4 separate regions of the Homo sapiens genome follow, and regions 2, 3 and 4 are each linked to region 1. The links are contacts of gene promoters, found by promoter capture Hi-C in blood cells and fetal thymus (Javierre and others, 2016). All regions are on one chromosome and are shown on one strand. Each heading gives the region's core, a stretch centred on a gene start or on the middle of the fragment in contact. The rest is flanking DNA. Distances are from core to core; before and after follow the strand shown.

Region 1 (3,515 bases), core at 422-2,921:
TTAAAGCACACAGAAAATGCTCAATAAAAAAGTCAAAAAATCAGGAAGATCATGAAGTTCTAGAGGTCTAAGTTAAGAGATATGAGGCTTGGGCCGGGCACGGTGGCTCATGCCTGTAATCCCAGCACTTTGGGAGGCTGAAGTGGGCAGATCACCTGAGGTCAGGAGTTCGAGACCGGCCTCCCCAACATGGTGCAACCACGTCTCTACTAAAAATACGAAAATTAGCCAGGTGTGGTGGCACACTTCTGTAATCCCAACTACTCGGGGGGCCGAGGGAGGAAAATTGCTTGAACTTGGGCAGTGGAGGTTGCAGTGAGCAGAGATGGCGCCGTTGCACTCCAGCCTGGGCAACAGAGCAAGACTCCATCTCAAAAAAAAAAAAAAAGAGAGATAAGGCTTGCCTTCCATAGGCTTGAAATTTACCTAAGCAGGAGGTCAGAACTCAGTTTGCTGGCTCCCTCCCTTCTCTGGGCCTCAGTTTCTCCATCAGGACAAGATGTTTGGACCTACTGGTCTGTAAAGGCCCTTTCAGATAAGACATCTCTGCTCTGCCTGCAGGACAACTACCGTGGGCCACAACCTGTGGCCCTCCCCAAGACCCCAGCTCACCGCGGTCCTCCTTCTCTGCCGCTGCCTCCTCCTCTTCCAGGCGCTTTGCCTGTTCCTCCTGTGCCCGCTGCCGCTCCAGTTTTTTCATCAGCTTGAGATCCTTCCATTTTTTTTTCTCCTCTTTCTCTGGATAAAAGAACATCCTAATTGGCCAAGGAGACAGTTCCCACTCATTGGGTCAGCCTGGACTCTGGAGAGCTGCTGGGTGAGCAGCCAGAGGGCAGCAAGGGAGCCTCCCCAGGGCTCCCGGCCCCTGCCTCCCCACTTTGTGTGCTGCAGGACCCAGAGGGAACAAAGTTGGTGTCTTTCTCCAGGGTTTGACTGAGCACTGGTGGAGTGGCCTATGGGAAGATACTCTTACCCACCCTTACTTACTCTGTTGCTTCCATTTTCGCCACTCAATCCTTTGGCCGTGTTCACCCTGGAGAAGGAGTGGTAGGAGGATTATGAGTGTGAGGCTGATGGTCACACCTGGAGGGGGTCCGTTTGCTGCACCATAGCCAGCCCCTCCACACGGGGCGGCAAGGAAGCCAAGGAACCTCTGCGAACTGCTGCCCCAGAAAGCGGCAGGAGGGCAGGGACCCGCTGTATCCCCAGCGCCTGGGACCCAGCCTGGCACACAGAAAGCACTCAAGAAACTGTCGAATGAGTTCCCACAAAACAGAAGAGAAAACTGAGGCTCAGGGTACAGCACTGCCCACAGTCGCCCTGGAAGTCAGAAAAGGGCTCCAGAAGCCACGAAAGGGCTCCGGATTCAGCATCCGGAGGCGAGCAGGGTCCCGCCTCCGTAATCCAGCGGGGGCCAGGGAGCCGCAGGGGGTTCCGGAGAGGACACGGGCGCTGTTCCCATCCTGCTGAGGCTCACGCGGCACCTTCGGGGGCTTCCGGCCTGGGATCAGCGGGAAGCAGGCAGCAGGAGGCGCGGCCCGGCCCCGGCGAAGGCCCCCACGCCACTGGTTCTCACGCCTCCACCATGCTGCCCTGCACGGGGTCCCGCCGCCCGCACTTACCGGGCCGCACGGCCGCTTCCTGCCGCGCTCCGCCATGTTCCGCACACACCGTCGGTCCCGCCTCTGCCAATGAGACTCGCCTCTTCCGGCCACACCTCCATTAAGCTGTCCAATCGGAGAGCCAATATCGCCCAGGGGCGTGGCCTGGGCGCCCGACGGGCTGCAGGGGTACGCGGGCTGGAGTAGGTTGGGCAGAGTAGGTGTCCAAATAGGCGGCATCGCGGGTACTGTGCTGAATTTTGGATGGCTCGGAGCCCCCCTCTGAGTTGGGACAAATACAACACTCAGACCTCTGAGTAGTTCACTTGTTTAAAAATAATTTTTTTTGAGACAGGGTCTCGCTATGTTGCCGAGGCTGGAGTGCAGTGGAGCAATTCTAGCTCACTGCAGGCTTGAGCTCCTGGGCTCAAGGGATCCTCCCACCTTAGCCTCCCGAGTAGCTGGAACCACAGGTGCGCAGCACCACGCCTAGCTCCTGGAAGGCTTTATACATGGGGACCCTGGGGCCTTGAGCTGTAGTGTGATTCAGAGCTGAAAATGAGATAATTTACTCCAGGTTTCTTATAGATTCGTTCACGTACTCTTTCTTTTTTTTGAGACAGAGTCTCGATTCATTGCCCAGGCTGGAGTGCAATGGCGCGATCTCGGCTCACTGCAACCTCCACCTCCTGGGTTCAAGCAATTCTCCTGCCTCAGCCTTTCAAGAAGCTGGGATTACAGGAGCGTGCCACCATGCCCAGCAAATTTTTTTGTGTGTGTTTTTAGTAGAGATGGTGTTGATGTTGGCCCCGTGTTGGCCAGCCTGGTTGAACTCCTGACCATAAGTGATCCTCCAGCCTCGGCCTCCCAAAGGGCTGGGATTACAGGCGTGACCCACTGCACCCGGCCTTTTTTTTTTTTTTTTTTTTTTTTTTTTTTTTTTTTTGAGACAGAGTTTCGCTTTTCTTGCCCAGGCTGGAGTGCAATGGCTCGATCTCAGCTCACAGGAACCTCCAACTCCTGGGTTCAAGCGATTCTCCTGCCTTAGCCTCCCGAGTAGCTGGGATTACAGGCATGCACCACCACGCCTGGCTGATTTTGTATTTTTAGTAGAGATGGAGTTTCTCTATGTTGGTCAGGCTGGTCTCGAACTCTTGACCTCAGGTGATCCGCCCACCTCGGCTTCCCAAAATGCTGGGATTACAGGCATGAGCCACCACGCCCGGCCTCGTTCTCTTTTAATTAACAGACTATATTAGTTGGGACTACAAGTGTGAGCCACCATGCCCGACTAATTTTTTTTTTTCTTTTTGTACAGATAGTGTCTCACTATGTTGCCAGGGCTGGTCTCAGACTCCAGGGTTCAAGCAATCCTCCCAACTTGGCTTCCCAAAGGGCTGAGATTATAGACTTGAGCCATTAATGCCTTTTATTTTTTGAGATCTAGTCTCACTCTGTTGCTCAGGCTGAAGTGCAGTGGCATGATCTCGGCTCACTGCAACCTCTGCCTCCCAGGTTCAAGCAATTCTCCTGCCTCAAGCTCCCAAGTAGCTGGGATTACAGGCGCCTGCCACCAAGCCCGGCTAATTTTTGTATTTTTAGTAGAGACGGGATTCTCCATGTTGGTCAGGTTGGTCTTGAACTCCCGACCTCAGGTGATCCACCCGCCTCGGCCTCCCAAAGTGCTGGAATTACAGGTGTCAGCCACCGTGCCCGGTCTCGAACTTAGATTTTTTTTTTTTTGAGACAGTCTCGCTCTGCTCTGTCGCCCAGGCTAGAGTGCAGTGGCGTGATCTCCGCTCACTGCAAGCTCCGCCTCCTGGGTTCATGCCATTCTCCTGCCTCAGCTTCCCGAGTAGCTGGGACTACAGGTGCCCGCCACTGCACCCGGCTAATTTTTTATATTTTTAGTAG
Region 2 (3,515 bases), core at 577-3,076, 490 kb before region 1:
TCTTGACCTTTCAGCTGAGAAGGCGAACTCAATGCTCATGCCCATACCACTGCACATTCTGCCTCCTGATGGTGATACCCATGAAGGATGTGGTGCTGGAATTTACTCAAGTCCCCAAAAGGAGGCACCCTATATTCCAGAAGAAATAGGTCCAAATCCTTATCAGACCAAAATTTCATCTTTATTTTTATTATTATTAGTTTTCTGAGACAGGCTCTCACTGCTCTGTTGCTCAGGCTGGAGTGCAGTGGCCCAATCTCGGCTCACTGCAACCTTTGCCTCCCGGGTTCAGTGATTCTCTTGCCTCAGCTCCTGAGTAGCTAGGATTACAGACGTGCACCACCACGCTCGGCTAAGTTTTGTATTTTTAATAGAGACAGGGTTTCGCCCTGTTGGCCAGACTGGTCTCGAACTCCTGACGTCATGTGATCTGCCCACCTCAACCTCCCAAAGTGCTGGGATTACAGGCATGAGCCACTGTGCCCAGCTTATTTTTATTTTTTGAGACACGGTCTTACTTTGTTGCCCAGGGTGGAGTTTAGTGGTGCAATCACAGCTCACTGCAGCCCCAAGTTCCAGAGCTCAAGCAATCCTCCCACCTCATCTTCCTGAGTAGCTGGGAGTACAAGCAAGAGCTACCTGGCTAATTTTTTTTTTTTTCCTGTAGAGGCAGAGTCTCACTATGTTGCCCAGGCTGGTCTTGAACTCCTGGCTGAAGTGATCCTCCTGCCTCAGCCTCCAAAAGTGCTGGGATTACAAGCTTGAGCCACCACGCCAGTCCCAGAATCTTTTTTTTTTTTTTTTTTTTTTTTTTTTTTGAGATGGAGACTTGCTCTGTCGCCCAGGCTGGAGTGCAGTGGCGCAACCTCGGCTTACTGCGACTTCCGCCTCCCAGGTTCAAGCAATTCTCCTGCCTCAGCCTCCCAGGGATCTATTAATGTTTAAGGACAAGTGGCAACTGTGGATGCCCAACATGGTTACTTAACAAGAAACCAATTTTTCAGAGGCCAAGAGTCCCAACAGGGCCGAGAATCTGGCCACTCGCCTATGGCTCTGGAGGTGGCATGACAAATAAGGGTGGCATGACAAATATAGGTTAACTGATTTGTTGCAGGGACCAGAGATCATAGATGGTGAAGTTAACTAAGGGCCTCCAAATCCGTGTCCTTTGTGCCAACAGGTGTGCCAGGCTGCTCACAAGACACCATGGTACGAGAAAGGATTTCTCGTAGTCACCTAGACACCAGGTTTATGGCTGTGTCGCAGCAAAGTTGGGTGTGACTTATGATTTTCGTTCTGAACCTTATTTGTTAGATAGGTCCTGGAGTCCTTAAAACACGCAGGTGAAAGTCAGGGAGTAGGAGCCATCAAAATTCGACTCTGGTGGGACTCGAACCCACAACCTTTGAATGACCACACTAGGCTCAGCTAGAAGTCCAATGCGCTATCCATTGCGCCACAGAGCCGGCTGCGGAACCCGGCCGCCCCGCTCACCTCTGCCTGAAACCGCCCTCTTAGCGAGCTTCTAGGTGTGGTGCTGGGTGTTTGCTGAACTCGGCCGGGGCCCGAGAGCGTGCTCCGGGTTTTCGGCTGTGGTGTGGACTGGGGTGCTCTTCCTACATCCGGGCGCTGGGGACAGCAGGGGGCAAGGGCCGGGGTCGGCAGGGAGGAAGGGCCGGGGTGAAGCCCGCCTGTCTCCTCGCGGACTCGGGGGTCTCCTCGGCTGGGTGGGGCCGCGCGGCGTGGACTACAACTCCCAGCGTGCCGCGCGGCGGCGCCGCCCGAAGCCGTTGCGCGAGCAGGGCGGGCTGGGGCCGAGCGGCGTCAGGCGCGCTGGGGCTGCGCTGCGCCGCCGGCTCTGTGGCTTGCCGGCTTCGGGGAAGGTGCGGCAGGCGGTGCTGCGGCCTGGCACAGCAGGTTTGGGGTGCGGGAGGCGGGCGGGGTAGGAGCGCGGCGGGCGGGGCCGGGCGGCGGGCGGGGCTGGCGGGGCGGCCGGGCCATGCAGGGCGCAGAGCCGGCTAAACCCTGCTGAGACCCGGCTCCGTGCGTCCAGGGGCGGCTAATGCCCCTCACGCTGTCTACGCTGCTGCAACCGGGCCGCATCTGGACGGGGCGCCGCGCGGCGGAGCCGACGCCGGGTGAGCATAGACCGGGCTGGTGGGTTCCCGGGTGGGGACATGTGCCAGGCCGAGTCGGGCGAGGTGGCGGTGCGGACCCCAGGTGGGGGGCGCGCCCTGCGGCGCTATTTCCCCGACAGACGCACTGTTACCTTGCTGTCTAGGGGCGAGGGCGGCACGCGTGACCCGGGACAGGGGCCCGAGGGAACTAGTCACCCTCTTCTGGCCTCTTCTTGCCCCAGCCTTCCAGGACAGGTTCCTGCCCCTCTGCTATGGCGGGCTATGGGAGGCCAGAGATCTGAGGACCCTGGACCCTGGCGTTGGGGTTGAGGACTCTGGTTCAGTTCCCCCGCCCCCGGCTTTTGCTTTTCGCGAGGGGGAGGGGGAGATGGTCTCCCAGGGCTTCTTGTGGTCCAGACCATTCCCTTTTCCTGGCTTGGAGGCTCTCAGGCCATTTCACATTTGTGACCTTCATCTACTCCCAAGAACAGGAAAACTCGGAGAAAAACAGTCCCATCAGATGTCCCCTTGATCGAGTCCTCAAAGCTCCAGGAATAGAACCCAAGAGTCCTAGCTCAACCCAGCCCCTGAAGCACAGTCAAGTCATTCGCCTTCCCCTAAGCCCTAGACCCCAAAGATTCATCCGAGTGGCTGTGTGTGTCTGTGTGATGGGTGGTGGTGTCTTCAAGGTCCTCCTCGCCTCCCTCAATCAGCTTTGCCCCCTGGGCGGTCACCTTTCAAGCACTTCCAGGCTCTAACTCGTTTTCTGGGTCGCCCTCTATAGACCAACAGACGCACTGCGATACCTGAGTCTATGGGCAGGGACCAAGCAGGGCTCCTTTTCCAGGGAGCTGCCCCTTTGACTTGGCCTGGTCATCCACAGAACCTCCCTGGGTTCTGGGTGGGGAGTCGAGCCAGAGACTTTTTTTTTCTTTTTTTGAGACGGAGTCTCGCTCTGTCTCCCAGGCTGGAGTGCAGTGGCACAATCTCGGCTCAATGGAACCTCCGCCTCCCGGGTTCAAGCAATTCTTCTGCCTCAGCCTCCTGAGTAGCTGGGGTTACAGGTGTGTGCCACCATGCCTGGCTAATTTTTGTATTTTTAGTAGAGACAGGGTTTCACCATCTTGGTCAGGGTGGTCTCGAACTCCTGACGTCATGATCCGCCTGCCTCGGCCTCCCAAAGTGCTGGGATTACAGGTGTGAGCCACCACTGCCAGCGAGCCAGAGGCTCTTAAGTCAGTACCCACCCCCAGGCCATCCGGTTTTAGGGACCCTGGATGTCAGAAGAGTGAACTGTCATGTTTTGGCTAGAAAAGCCTCTTAGAACACGTCTCAGGACAACTCGGTGGTGGCCACTGCGCAGACCAGACTTCGCTCGTTCTCGCATGCCTCGCTCCG
Region 3 (3,515 bases), core at 702-3,201, 460 kb before region 1:
CAGTCCTCTTGCCTTGGCCTCCCAAAGCATTGGGATTACAGGTGTGAGTCGCCACACCCATTCCACCTGAACTCCTAGATCTTAACTATTACATCATTCTGCCCTTAACCACTAGGCTACACCATCATCCTCTACCAATGCTGAGTTCAGTTTTGGAAGTGTTGGTGTTTAGATACCCATAGGCCGTCTACTTCATTCCATTTCTTTTTTTTAGCGTCTCACTCTGTCGCCCAGGCTGGAGTCCAGTGGCACGATCTCGGCTCACTGCAACCTCTGCTGCTTCCTGGGTTCAAGGGATTCTCCTGCCTCTGCCTCCAGAGTAGTTGGGATTACAGGAGACTGCCACCATGCCTGGCTAATTTTTGTATTTTTAGTAGAGACAGGGTTTCACCATGTTGGCTAGACTGGTCTTGAACTCCTGACCTCGTGATCCGCCCATCGTGGCCTCTCGAAGTGCTAGGATTACAGGCATAAGCCACTGTGCCTGGCCAACTTCATTCCATTTCTGCCCTGGGCTTTTTTTTTTTTTTGAGACAGAGTCTTGCTCTGTCACCAGGCTGGAGTGCAGTGGCTCGATGTCAGCTCACTGCAACCTCCACCTCCCGGGTTCCAGCGATTCTTCTGCCTCAGCCTCCCGAGTAGCTGGGACTACAGGCGCACGCCACCACATCCAGCTAATTTTTGTATTTTTTTAGTAAAGACAGGGTTTTGCCATGTTGGCCAGGATGGTCTTGATCTCTTGACCTCGTGATCCGCCTGCCTCGGCCTCCCAAATTGCTGGGATGACAGGCGTGAGCCGCCGCGCCCGGCCTGCCCTGAGCCGCCGCGCCCGGCCTGCCCTGAGCTTTTGCAACAGGCTCCAGTGGTCTCCGTGTCTCTTTCCTTATTCCCCTCAAATCATTCTCCATATTGCAGCCAGAAATTATATTTTAAAACACAATTCTAAAATGTCACTGTCTCCCAAAACCCTTCAGTAGTCTCCCACTGCTCCTAGAGACTGAAATGTTTACCTGCTTACAAGGCAGGGGTTGGCCCCTGAGCACCTTTGCAGCTCCCTCTCTAGATGGATGAAAGTCAGGCTCCCTAACTTCCACCTTCCTCTCCATGTTCCAGCATGTTCTCACCCAGAGCCTCTGGGCCTTTTGTCCTCCTCACTGGAATGCTCCTAGAGGTTTCTCTCCCCTCACAGCCACCTAGTTTACTCAGGTTTTAGAGCCCAGCAAGTCCAGTCTACTCAGTTTTCTTTTTGAAGTTCCTATAACTTCAGTTCCTTTATTTAAGTTTGAGGTTGTACATGTCTTAGTATGCTTATTTGATTACAGTTAGTCTCCCCGCTAGACTGTGAGTGCCCTAAAGGCAGGAACCTTGCCCATCCCCTTTACCACTAGCACCGATCAAAATGCCTGGCACAGGGAGGCGCAATGAACAGCTGTTGAACGAGTGACTTCCAAATCGACAGCAAAGGGGGCGGCTGGATAGCGAGTCGCCCGCTCAGGAGAGATTCTGGGTCGGAAATAAAGATCTGGGAGTCATTTATAATTCCAACCAGACGAGTAGATGGGCTGGCCCAAGCGGTGTGTAGACTGAAGAGATTCTAACTCATGCAAGATAAGCAGCTACGTGGCTCACGGTCACGTCGCAAAAAACCTGGGGGCTCTCCTCCGCCTGCTTGTGGTCCCGTACAAGGCGCTTCCCACCCTGGGTCTCTGAGCCCAGTCGGTGAAAGACGGAAGGAGACCGATTCACAGCCCCAACAGCGCCGGTGATAGTCCCTCTGCCACCCCTTTCCCTCCGCTGCCCTCCCCTCCCCTCCCCTCCCCTCGATGACTTCCTCCAACAGCTGACGAAGCTGGATCCCTGGGCACCGCCTCTTCCGTCCGCGGCACCCGGAGACGCCCGGAAATTTGCGGGCGCGCCGGAAGTTGAGGGGAGTTTCCTGCGAGCTCGGCTTCCTCAACATGGCTGCGCCCTTGTCAGTGGAGGTGGAGTTCGGGTGAGTCACAGAGCTGGGGCGCCGTGGGGATGGATTGAAGTCGTCGGGCCCAGAATTCCTTTCCTTCTGCCGTGGGGCCTGACACGGCCGAATCACTGGGTGTCCCAGTGCCCGCTGTGAGCTACGCTACCCGCCTAGGAGAGTCTGAGAGGCCAGTCTCTCTTGGCAGTGAGGCCGTCTGTCCGGAAATAGAGGCGCACATTGGGAGGGAAATGCTCTCTGTGTACCACTCGGTGCCCTGTGCTCCGCCGGAGTCGGAGGTCGTGACTGTTAGCAGGCAGCCTCTCTCTCTTCTTTTCCATTCCTATCTCGGACCAATCCCATCTGTTTGGCATCTGAGCTCCTAGAACCTAGAAGGACCACCCTCCACCCGCTGATTTCATTCTTTGGGCAGCAGTTTCTTTTTACACTGTTATTAAGGTCTTGTTTCTCGTGGGATGTAGTGGCCAGGGCGGGACTTTTTTCTTTTTCTTTCCTAAGACTTGGGGATGGTAAACAGACCTGAGCCTCCTTCAGGACAGTCAGTAAACTTGCTGATTGCCTTCTGCAGAACTGGAGTCAGGTGGAGACACGGGGACAAATAAGAAATCACACTGAAGGGAACTAACAGGGACAGTATAGTATACACAAGATGAAAAATGCAGAGATTGGGACACACACCAGTTACTGAAGAAACACAGAGCAGGGAGGAAGTCTACCCAAGGCACTATTTGTGCTTCCTACAAACAGGTTTGTCATATGGTTTCAAAGCTGAGGGAAACTGCAGAGCTTAGAGAGAAGGCAAAGAAACAGGCCTTGAAAGATGGGTGGTGTACTTTACAGTATCACGTGGAAAAGAGGAAATAGGTAGGGATGTGTGTGTGTGTGTGTGGAATAGGTAGGTGTGTGTGTGTGCCTGTGTGTGTGTAGATAAGCCAAGGTCTATGTGACAGGAAAAGTCTGGGATGGGAATCTAAAACCTCTGCCCAGTGCCTTTCTTCTCATTGGATGCCTCCCATTTCTTTCATGTTTTCCCTTAATTGGGTAGTTCATTCACCAGCCATTTATTGAGTGCCTACCATGTGCCGGGCAGCAAGCCAGACACTGAGGATACAAAGATAAATAGAAGTCTGTCCGTGCCCTACAGCGTTCAGCATTTCTGCCCCTTAGAAGGGGGGTAAGTCTCATGACTAAGTGCATTTTAATTGATATTGTCTGGCTGCTTGGATCCAATTAGAACTGTATTGGTCTGGACTCCTCACTGTTTTGCCTCACTGACCCTTGGCCCAGCTACACTCCCCAAAGCCTGGGATTCTAGGAGGATCCCTGCTTCCTTGACAGGCCTCAGCAGAGCTGGAAAGAGAGAAGCCACAGACTGCTGTGTTAAGATTTATCTGGGCCAGGCATGGAGGCTCATGCCTGTAATCCTAGTACTTTGGGAGGCTTGGGCAGGAGGACTGCTTGAGCCCAAGAATTCGAGACCAGCCTTGGCAACATGGGGAGACTTCATCTCTACCAAAAAAAAAAAAAAGAAGATTTATCT
Region 4 (3,515 bases), core at 576-3,075, 330 kb before region 1:
GCACTCCTGCCTGGGCAACACGGCGAGATTCTGTCTCGAAAAGATAAAGTGTATATATAATTCAATGGTTTGTAGTATATTCACCAAGTTGTGTAGCCATCACCATTATCTAATTCTAGACCTAGTTTTTTCTTTTTTCGAAATGGAGTCTCTCTCTGTCACCCAGGCTACAGTGCAGTGGCACCATCTCGGCTCACTGCAGCCTCTGCCTCCAGAGTTCAAGGGATCCTCCTGCATCAGCCTGTGGGGACTATAGGTGCATGGCACTTTGCCTGGCTAATTTTTGTATTTTTTGTAGAGACAGGGTTTTGCCATGTTGCCCAGGCTTGTCTGAAACTCCTGACCTCAGGTGATCTGCCCACCTTGGCCTTCCAAAGTGCTGGGATTACGGCACCCAGCCAACCAATTTCATCACTCCCAAAAAAGAAACGCCATACCCATTAGCAGTCACTCCCCATTCCCCTCCCCCAGCCCCTGGCAACTAGTCATAAAGTTTCTCTGGCTCTATAGATTTGTCTCTTCTGGATATTTCACATAAGTGGAATTGTCCAACATGTGGCCATTCATGACTGGCTTCTCTCAGCATAATGCTTTCAAGATTGATGTTGCAGCGTATCATCAGCACTTTATTTTTATGGCCCCATAACATTCCATTATATAGATGTGGTGTTTCCTCCTGCCAAACAGGGCTGGTTGGGATTCCAAAGAAGCACTATGGCCGGGCGCAGTGGCTCATGCCTGTAATCCCAACGCTTTGGGAGGTCGAGGTGGGTGGATCAACTGAGGTCAGGAGTTCGAGACCAGCCTGACCAACATGGTGAAACCCCGCCTCTGCTAAAAATACAAAATAGCTGGGCGTGGTGGCTGGCGCGTGTAGTCCCAGCTACACGGGGAGCTGAGGCAGGAGAATCGCTTGAACCCGGGAGGCGGAGGTTGCAGTGAGCCGAGATCGAGCCACTGTACTCCAGCCTGGGGGACAGAGCAAGACTCTGTCTCAAAAAAGCAGCATTAAACCCAAAACATTTATTAGGGAAGCTTACAGAGTGGGCTGCAGCAATTCTCGCGACAGACAGAGAGAAGCGGTGTTTCACCTAGGTACATCCCCAGCGAGGGGTCAGGGTATGAAGTTTATATGAGGGTTTATGGAATTTGGCTAAAAGCAGGGGTCAGTTTCAGCGTTTTGGGCAATAACCTAGATATCCTTAGTGCCTAGGGATATGCAAGGCCCGTGTTTGGTTGCAAGTCTGCAGGAAAAAACTTGCAGCTGGCTGGGTCACAGGGCGGTCAAGGCACTCTGATACTTGGTCAGTGCACAGAAAGCGGGGGAACTCGGGAACCGCGCACATAGTACTATATTTTATTTATCCATTCACCAATGGATGGACGTTTGGGTTGCTTTCACTTTTTGGCTATTATGAATAACACTGCTGTGAACATTCATGGACAAGTTTTTATATATACATAGGTTTCATTTCTTTGGCGTATTTTATATATATATATATATTTACCTAGGAGAATTGCTGGGTCAAATGGTAATTGTTTAACCTTTTGAGGAACTGCCAGACTGTCTTCCACAGCAGGTGCTTCATTTTACAGTCCCATGAGCAGTGTATGAGGGTTCCAGTTTCTGCACAGTCTCAAGGCACAGACAAATTTTCAGCAGCCCCGGGGATTGGGAGCGGTGGTTACCTCTGCGGAACGTGCCCCGACAGCCAAGCCCTGCGCGCAGGCGCACTGGTGGGAGGGCGGGAACGCGGGAGCGTCGCCGGAGGTGGGGCGTGCAGGCGTTAGGGGCGGGGCTGTGCTGCGCGCGCGTCCCGGAAGCAGAAGCCTGTGTGGCCTTCCCGGCGGCTGATTCGAGGGCTTGTTTGGTCAGAAGGGGGGCGTCAGAGAAGCTGCCCCTTAGCCAACCATGCCGTCTGAGGGTCGCTGCTGGGAGACCTTGAAGGCCCTACGCAGTTCCGACAAAGGTCGCCTTTGCTACTACCGCGACTGGCTGCTGCGGCGCGAGGTGAGCGGTGGCCCCGGAGGACGTAGGCCTTTCCGGCCCCTCGCGACCGAAACCTTCTCCCTAGCCGTTGGCACGTTCTGCTCCCGGGAACCCGTGCAGTCTAACAACCTGCATTTATTTCTTGACTTCTGTGTGTACATCCCTCTGTCCTGGGGTTTCTGTCCTCTTCAGCCTATTTTAGCGTTTCGGGGAGCTCCCCTGACTTCACAGGTGCCCCGCGCTCTGAAGGCTTCATTGCTACCCTCCGCCAGTTGGGCGCCTTCTCCGTTCTGCTGTTGTCAAAGCAATCTCGGCCCCAGGTTCAGTTAACTTACTGTATGTCTCATGTGCTGGGAGCTCTAGAGTTTGCGACGAACGATTGACACGACCTAATCCATTGCTACTAGTGAAATGACCAAATTTTTAGATTGATTTGGCAGACCTGGAAAGTGAATGGGGGCGTGGTCACCGTACCTAGCATTTGCAAAGCTCTGCGCGAGAAGTGGAGGGATGTGGAGAGTTAAGGCCGAGCTCCCATTCCCGAGTCGCTGCTAGTTAGCTACAGATAAGGCGTTGTCCTGCATCCTCAGACTTCTTGGGAAACAATCCTAAAGTATTTCCCTGTCTTTTATGTTGTTGACAGTTTTGAAAAATACAGACCTTACATTCTGTAGGTTGACTGCCAGCATATGTGCTTTCAAACCACCAGACCAAGGTTAAGCATTCTTGGCAGGAATACCACAGAAATGATGCCATGGCTTTCTCAGTAAGTCACATGAGGAGGCACACAGATGTCAACCCATCCCAACACTGGTGATGCTAATCTTGATCACCTGGTTACGTTATTATCTGCCTGGTCTCTCCGTTTAAAATTCGTCATTTTTCCCTTAGTAATTGTTGGGAAGTAATAATACCAGTATCCTTTTTTCTGGGCAAACCTTAATCCTCCATGGCTTTAGCATTCATTGATGTTTTCCACATGAATCGATACCTCTATGACGTTGCCAGATCCTGTTTCTTTATATCCGCTATTCCTTCTGCATTTGTTAGTTGGCATTCTACTGTAAGGAGGTGCTTTCTATTTTATTCAGTGAGTTGTAATCCATTACTTTTATTATTTATTTATTTTATTTTAAATGTCCCAGATTTTGTAAGCTTGTATCAAAATAATCACATGCAAGGCTAGGCGTGGTGGCTCAGGCCCGTAATCCCAGCACGTTGGGAGGCCGAGGGGGACGGATCACTTGAGGTCAAGAGTTCGCGACCAGCCTGGCCAACATGGTGAAACCGCATCTCTACTAAAAATACAAAATTAGCCGAGCATGGTGGTGCATGCCTGTAATCCCAGCTACTCGGGAGACTGAGGCATGAGAATTGCTTGAACCCTGGAAGCAGAGGTTGCAGTGAGCCGAGATTGTGCTGCTGCACTCAAGCCTGGGTGACAGAGTGAGACTGTGTCTCAAAAAAAAAAATGTAGCCTTGTAAATATGTACAACAATTATGTATTCATAAGAATTAAAAAGAA

Evidence for each region. The method cuts DNA at HindIII sites, captures the fragments that hold promoters and counts their contacts. A CHiCAGO score of 5 or more calls a contact.
Region 2: the fragment with the promoter of SLC27A4 here is called in contact with the fragment with the promoter of SPOUT1 in region 1 in 1 of 17 cell types (M0 macrophages); the score reaches 5.2 in M0 macrophages.
Region 3: a contact is called between the fragment with the promoter of URM1 here and the fragment with the promoter of SPOUT1 in region 1, in 1 of 17 cell types (fetal thymus). The highest score is 7.4, in fetal thymus.
Region 4: the fragment with the promoter of GLE1 here is called in contact with the fragment with the promoter of SPOUT1 in region 1 in 4 of 17 cell types (naive CD8 T cells, non-activated CD4 T cells, total B cells and 1 more); the score reaches 8.9 in naive CD8 T cells.

The regions. Positions count from the first base shown.
Region 1 is chr9:128,828,123-128,831,637 of GRCh38, forward strand. It overlaps SPOUT1 (SPOUT domain containing methyltransferase 1), which reads right to left and starts at 1,672. Exons shown (of 12, transcript NM_016390.4): 1 at 1,623-1,672; 2 at 988-1,033; 3 at 613-738. The coding sequence starts at 1,658. It overlaps KYAT1-SPOUT1 (KYAT1-SPOUT1 readthrough), which reads right to left. Exons shown (of 25, transcript NR_182311.1): 14 at 1,623-1,883; 15 at 988-1,033; 16 at 613-738. RefSeq lists enhancers at 136-1,066, 1,864-1,923 and silencers at 1,404-1,583, 2,400-2,623. The HindIII fragment of the contact is 15,703 bases long and covers 1-3,515 here.
Region 2 is chr9:128,338,701-128,342,215 of GRCh38, forward strand. SLC27A4 (solute carrier family 27 member 4) reads left to right here and starts at 1,827. Exons shown (of 13, transcript NM_005094.4): 1 at 1,827-2,138. TRR-TCT3-1 (tRNA-Arg (anticodon TCT) 3-1) reads right to left here and starts at 1,466; the gene lies at 1,376-1,466. It also overlaps the pseudogene TMSB4XP4. RefSeq lists silencers at 1,204-1,845, 1,474-1,883, 1,954-2,353 and an enhancer at 2,990-3,169. The HindIII fragment of the contact is 5,439 bases long and covers 759-3,515 here.
Region 3 is chr9:128,369,423-128,372,937 of GRCh38, forward strand. It overlaps URM1 (ubiquitin related modifier 1), which reads left to right and starts at 1,952. Exons shown (of 5, transcript NM_030914.4): 1 at 1,952-1,993. The coding sequence starts at 1,959. RefSeq lists enhancers at 259-1,123, 1,124-1,987, 2,051-2,150. The HindIII fragment of the contact is 13,678 bases long and covers 1-3,515 here.
Region 4 is chr9:128,502,894-128,506,408 of GRCh38, forward strand. GLE1 (GLE1 RNA export mediator) reads left to right here and starts at 1,826. Exons shown (of 16, transcript NM_001003722.2): 1 at 1,826-2,011. The coding sequence starts at 1,913. RefSeq lists a silencer at 1,637-1,846 and an enhancer at 2,067-2,226. The HindIII fragment of the contact is 2,110 bases long and covers 1,034-3,143 here.